Regions from separate parts of the Homo sapiens genome. Here region 1 is linked to region 2. Evidence: promoter capture Hi-C in human tissues and cell types (Jung and others, 2019). All regions are on one chromosome and are shown on one strand. The core of a region is centred on a gene start or on the middle of the fragment in contact, and the rest is flanking DNA. Distances in the headings are between cores, read along the strand shown. Region 1 overlaps SLC26A4 (solute carrier family 26 member 4). Region 2 holds the start of SLC26A4 (solute carrier family 26 member 4).

Evidence for each region. Contacts are between HindIII fragments. The study calls those that stand out against the background at their distance.
Region 1: a contact is called between a fragment that was not itself captured here and the fragment with the promoter of SLC26A4 in region 2, in 1 of the 25 tissues and cell types used here (hippocampus).

The regions. Positions count from the first base shown.
Region 1 is chr7:107,693,259-107,696,022 of GRCh38, forward strand. SLC26A4 (solute carrier family 26 member 4) reads left to right here. Exons shown (of 21, transcript NM_000441.2): 11 at 1,145-1,222; 12 at 1,363-1,458; 13 at 2,675-2,764. Among named protein-coding and RNA genes, the nearest start is that of SLC26A4-AS1, 33 kb to the left of the region's middle. The HindIII fragment of the contact is 5,968 bases long and covers 1-2,764 here.
Region 2 is chr7:107,659,526-107,662,238 of GRCh38, forward strand. SLC26A4 (solute carrier family 26 member 4) reads left to right here and starts at 1,303. Exons shown (of 21, transcript NM_000441.2): 1 at 1,303-1,330; 2 at 2,114-2,280. The coding sequence starts at 2,117. It overlaps SLC26A4-AS1 (SLC26A4 antisense RNA 1), which reads right to left and starts at 2,273. Exons shown (of 2, transcript NR_028137.1): 1 at 2,077-2,273; 2 at 1-681. The HindIII fragment of the contact is 16,998 bases long and covers 1-2,713 here.

The sequences.
Region 1 (2,764 bases), core at 265-2,764, 34 kb after region 2:
GATGGGGATAGGAAGAGCATAGAAAAGCCAGCCAGACATACAAAGCACGCTTTTTAGTACCTCATACACATCATATTGCCTCAGGCTGACCCAACTATAATCTAAATATAAATGATCAATTTGCCAGGTAGAGCAAGTGCTTTCTAATTTTCTGTTTATATTTGCTGTGTCTGTCTCCCGTAACTCAGACCTTTTGCACTAGACAGTACTTGTGCTCAACAAAATCTTCCCAGTTGTTTCCTCTCTGATTGCTTTGCTTGTAGTTCCCTGTCTCCTTTTCTTCTTTGTTTCAGAGCTTCTAATCTTCATCTTGGCTCTGCCCCAGCTGTCTCAACAGAGAATTCATTGGTCATCTAATCAAACGAGAGAGTAGTCCCCACCCCCTCAGCCTCTCTCCTAACTAGTATGGATCTTAGGAGAGCTATTTTTGCCAGCGAAGGTAAAGTTTCTGAAGCTTCCTTTTACCCCTGCTATTGCCCCGTTACTCCATAGTCACTGTTTCAGGCTGCCTTGGGGCAAAGCTCTGAGCCTGCCTCCGTGGAACTGTCAGAGGAGGCAGGAGACACAATCCCACCTCTCAATGTGCAAATGTGGCATTTCGAATTTGCAATAGGATGAGTAAATTTATTTTCTCTGAGACTTTAATGAGACCATGTGCTACAAGTACGAAGTGTTATCAGAGTTGCTATTATAGCTGCAGCTTCAATAATGCAGAAAAATCAGCTATGTGCCATGAGAATTTATTTCCCAAGAATACGACAATGATCTCTGTTGTTGGGAAAGGGGGGATTGGTCCATGTTTCCTGCCATGGTAAATAACTAGAAGCTTGGCCTGAATGGACGCCGAAACCGCAGGTGTGTACTATCACCAAATAAAATCCCTGTCAAACTGGCTTTAATTTCATAGGATCAGTCCCCATATTTTCTTTAACTTCTCTGCCATAGCATATATAGATGCCATTTTTGTTCAGTTTTGTGGCTTGAGCAAATAACTATCACTTTTCTCGACAGTATTGAGCAGAAGGGGGAGACAGGGAAGTATGAAGTGTGTCTGTGAACAGGCTGTCTCATACACACATCCAGTGAGCTGGAAGACACAAGGGAGAAGGACGAATCCTTTTCATAGGAGGTGTGTGTCTTCCAGGTTGCTGGCATCATCTCTGCTGCGATTGTGATGATCGCCATTCTTGCCCTGGGGAAGCTTCTGGAACCCTTGCAGAAGGTATAACCCTGCTTCTCTGCATACCGATTGCATAATTTCCCTTCACTACTCTGCTACCAGATAAATAACAGGAGATTTAACAATCATCACATGGAAAACCATTCCCTGAATAACACAGCCTTCTCTGTCTCTCTTGGCAGTCGGTCTTGGCAGCTGTTGTAATTGCCAACCTGAAAGGGATGTTTATGCAGCTGTGTGACATTCCTCGTCTGTGGAGACAGAATAAGATTGATGCTGTAAGTCACCTACCACCTATATTTATCTGAAATAAGATTTGGTTCTTATATGCTTCCTGCCATATCACTATATTCCCCCCATCCCCTAAGTCTCACTTGTGCTTTGGGAACTCCAGAGGAGAAATTAGAATTGTGGGGATAAATCAAAGCCATGAAGTCTTCCATGTGAACTGCATTTTGTGAAGATTCTGTATCTCTGGGAAGGTCAATTTCCAGCAAGAATCCCATATGAGGCTCATTCATACACCTTTGGCCTTCTAAACACAAAAAGCAAAAAAATGTTTAAACACCCTAGTTTAGAAGGACAAACAACATACAAAACAATGCAAAAACAAAATACAAAATGTAAAAACCCACGCTGACTTTAACTCTGACTAACATAACCTTTGCAACTATTCTGAGAAACTAAAAATCAGAAGCTAAATCCTTCAGAGTTCCTCTCTAATTTAAACCATAAAAAGAATGAGAAGACTTCCTACATATTGATATGGAAAATTTTCCAAGACAAATCGTTAAGTGAAAAAGAGACCAGAATAGAAATGCTGGGGAAAAGCACAGACACAGGCAGAAATAAAAGCGGATACAAGGAGGGAGGGAAGTTGGGAATGGGTGGAGAAGGGGGAGGGTTGTGAGCAAGAGTTTTCCCCTTTTTAATGATAATTCCCTTATGAACCATACAAATATATTAGCTATTCAAAAATTTAGAAATAAATAAAATGGGACAGTTGGTCTTAATTGAGAAGCCCAGTTTCTACAGCTACTTAAATATAAAATGAATGAAGTCACAATATTTTTAAAAAGCTGTGATTTGGCCAGGCACAGTGGCTCAGGCCTGTAATCCCAGCAATTTGGGAGGCAGGAGGATCACTTGAGCTCAGGAATTTGAGACCAGCCTGCGTAACACAGTGAGACCTTGTCTCTACTACAAATAAAAGATTAAAAATTAGCCGGGTTTGGTGGTATGTACTTGTGGGTAGTCCCAGCTACTTGGGAGGCTGAGGCGGGAGGATCACTTGAATCCAGAAGATGGAGGCTGCAGTGAACTATCATGGTGCCACTGCACTCCAGCCTGGGCAATAGAGTGTGACCCTATCTCAAAAGAAAAAAAAAAATGTAATTTGTTTGTGGATCATTGATCTTATTTTTATAGGTAGTTATCACATGATGGTACCTGATACATTAATATAATTCTTTTCATTTCTATTTTTTTCCCTAGGTTATCTGGGTGTTTACGTGTATAGTGTCCATCATTCTGGGGCTGGATCTCGGTTTACTAGCTGGCCTTATATTTGGACTGTTGACTGTG
Region 2 (2,713 bases), core at 53-2,552:
GTAGGATGTTTAGCAGCATCTCTGGTCTCTACTCACTAGATCCCAATAGCATCTCCCTAGGTGTGACAACCAAAAATGTCTCCAGGCATTGACCTCTGGAGGCAAAAAAAGCCCTTTATTAAGAACCAGTGGTATACATAAGTAAAACATACACAAGAGATTCCTCCCCTCTTCTCTGTATGTGAATAAAAATTGCAAAGTTCATGACCTGGATTTTCCTTTTAGGTTTCTTCTTTAGTGGTTCTTAACTTCATTGGGTGAAGTAAGCCTTTGAAGATCTGTTGAAAGCTGTTGACTCATTCACTTCTCAGGAAAACGCACATGCTGACTACCATTTCAGAGAATTTGCATCAGGGTTCTCTGGGGAGGAGTTCTGAGTTCTGTTTCCAGGAGCTCGTAGAATTGTCATGGTCTGCATATGCAAGGCAGGTGGATTACGGAAGGTTGATGTACAGAGGTCTGTATTTTGGAGCCTCTTCTGTATTTACTTCAGAACACTAACAATCAGGCGAGAATGTTCTGGTTTATCAAACCCTTCCTTCTGCCTTTCATCTTAACCATGCATTAGTTTTAACAAAGTTCATCCCAACAGAAGACAAAACACTGATGAGGTAGGATAGCTCCAGCTCCTCCTCCCTCTCTTCTAGTCTTGATTTCCATGTAGTCCAGTTTATTCCTTCCCTGATTGTCCAGGAGAATGAGAAAAAGAAAAAACAGAGTCTAGTGGGTAAGAAAGGGCCACCTGGACGGCTTGATTTGGATTGTGAAATAAAACACACACACATGCACACGTAGAATAAGTGGCTAAAATCTGAGTAAATCGTGAACTCTCTGTATCCTCCACCCATTGAATACTCCTAAAAGACTTTCTAGAAATTCAAGGACTTATTAATATAGAAACCTGGCCATTGTTCCTCTTCTCCTCCCCATGTGGTATGAGAGCACCTGTGGCAGGCTCCCAGAGACCACGGACCTCTTCCTCTAGGCGGGCTCTGCTCTTCTTTAAGGAGTCCCACAGGGCCTGGCCCGCCCCTGACCTCGCAACCCTTGAGATTAGTAACGGGATGAGTGAGGATCCGGGTGGCCCCTGCGTGGCAGCCAGTAAGAGTCTCAGCCTTCCCGGTTCGGGAAAGGGGAAGAATGCAGGAGGGGTAGGATTTCTTTCCTGATAGGATCGGTTGGGAAAGACCGCAGCCTGTGTGTGTCTTTCCCTTCGACCAAGGTGTCTGTTGCTCCGTAAATAAAACGTCCCACTGCCTTCTGAGAGCGCTATAAAGGCAGCGGAAGGGTAGTCCGCGGGGCATTCCGGGCGGGGCGCGAGCAGAGACAGGTGAGTTCGCCCTGAAGATGCCCACACCGCCCGGCCCGGGCTCCACTCCCGGGGAGGCCTCGAGGGTTGCGGATGGGACTCTTAAGTGGTCACGGATCAGGTGGGCAGGGGGCAGTACAGCTTTCTTTCTGAGACGCCGAGAGCGAACAGGCTGCTCGGAAAACAGGACGAGGGGAGAGACTTGCTCAATAAGCTGAAAGTTCTGCCCCCGAGAGGGCTGCGACAGCTGCTGGAATGTGCCTGCAGCGTCCGCCTCTTGGGGACCCGCGGAGCGCGCCCTGACGGTTCCACGCCTGGCCCGGGGGTCTGCACCTCTCCTCCAGTGCGCACCTGGAGCTGCGTCCCGGGTCAGGTGCGGGGAGGGAGGGAATCTCAGTGTCCCCTTCCAGCCTTGCAAGCGCCTTTGGCCCCTGCCCCAGCCCCTCGGTTTGGGGGAGATTTCAGAACGCGGACAGCGCCCTGGCTGCGGGCCATAGGGGACTGGGTGGAACTCGGGAAGCCCCCAGAGCAGGGGCTTACTCGCTTCAAGTTTGGGGAACCCCGGGCAGCGGGTGCAGGCCACGAGACCCGAAGGTTCTCAGGTGCCCCCCTGCAGGCTGGCCGTGCGCGCCGTGGGGCGCTTGTCGCGAGCGCCGAGGGCTGCAGGACGCGGACCAGACTCGCGGTGCAGGGGGGCCTGGCTGCAGCTAACAGGTGATCCCGTTCTTTCTGTTCCTCGCTCTTCCCCTCCGATCGTCCTCGCTTACCGCGTGTCCTCCCTCCTCGCTGTCCTCTGGCTCGCAGGTCATGGCAGCGCCAGGCGGCAGGTCGGAGCCGCCGCAGCTCCCCGAGTACAGCTGCAGCTACATGGTGTCGCGGCCGGTCTACAGCGAGCTCGCTTTCCAGCAACAGCACGAGCGGCGCCTGCAGGAGCGCAAGACGCTGCGGGAGAGCCTGGCCAAGTGCTGCAGGTAGCGGCCGCGCGGGCCTGCGTAGAGAGAAGCGGAGCGGGGCGTCCACGCCTTGGGGAGGGAAGGGCGTCCCCAGCGGGCGAGAGTGGGGTGCGGGCGGCGGAGCCCCTGGGCGCCAGCTGCTTCTCCCAGAGGCCCGACTTTCGGTCTCCGGTCCTCCACGCCGCCCTTCTGGTGGGAGGGTGGCTCCATCAGTCTCGGGCCCGAAATGAACTTACCTGGGAAACTCGCCTTTGGGGAGAGTGGGTTCTAGGAGCCCCGTCTCTCTTTTTCCTCTCTGAAGGAAACTTGGAGTGCCTCTTGGGGTACAGTGGGTCCCTGTTGCCTTCTTGGGAGCTTGTTTAAATGAAATGAATAGGGAAACCCAGCTCTTGACCAGGAGGAGTCCTTGAAACACTCAAGCTAAGTAGGCGGGCTACCATTCAGTTAGAGA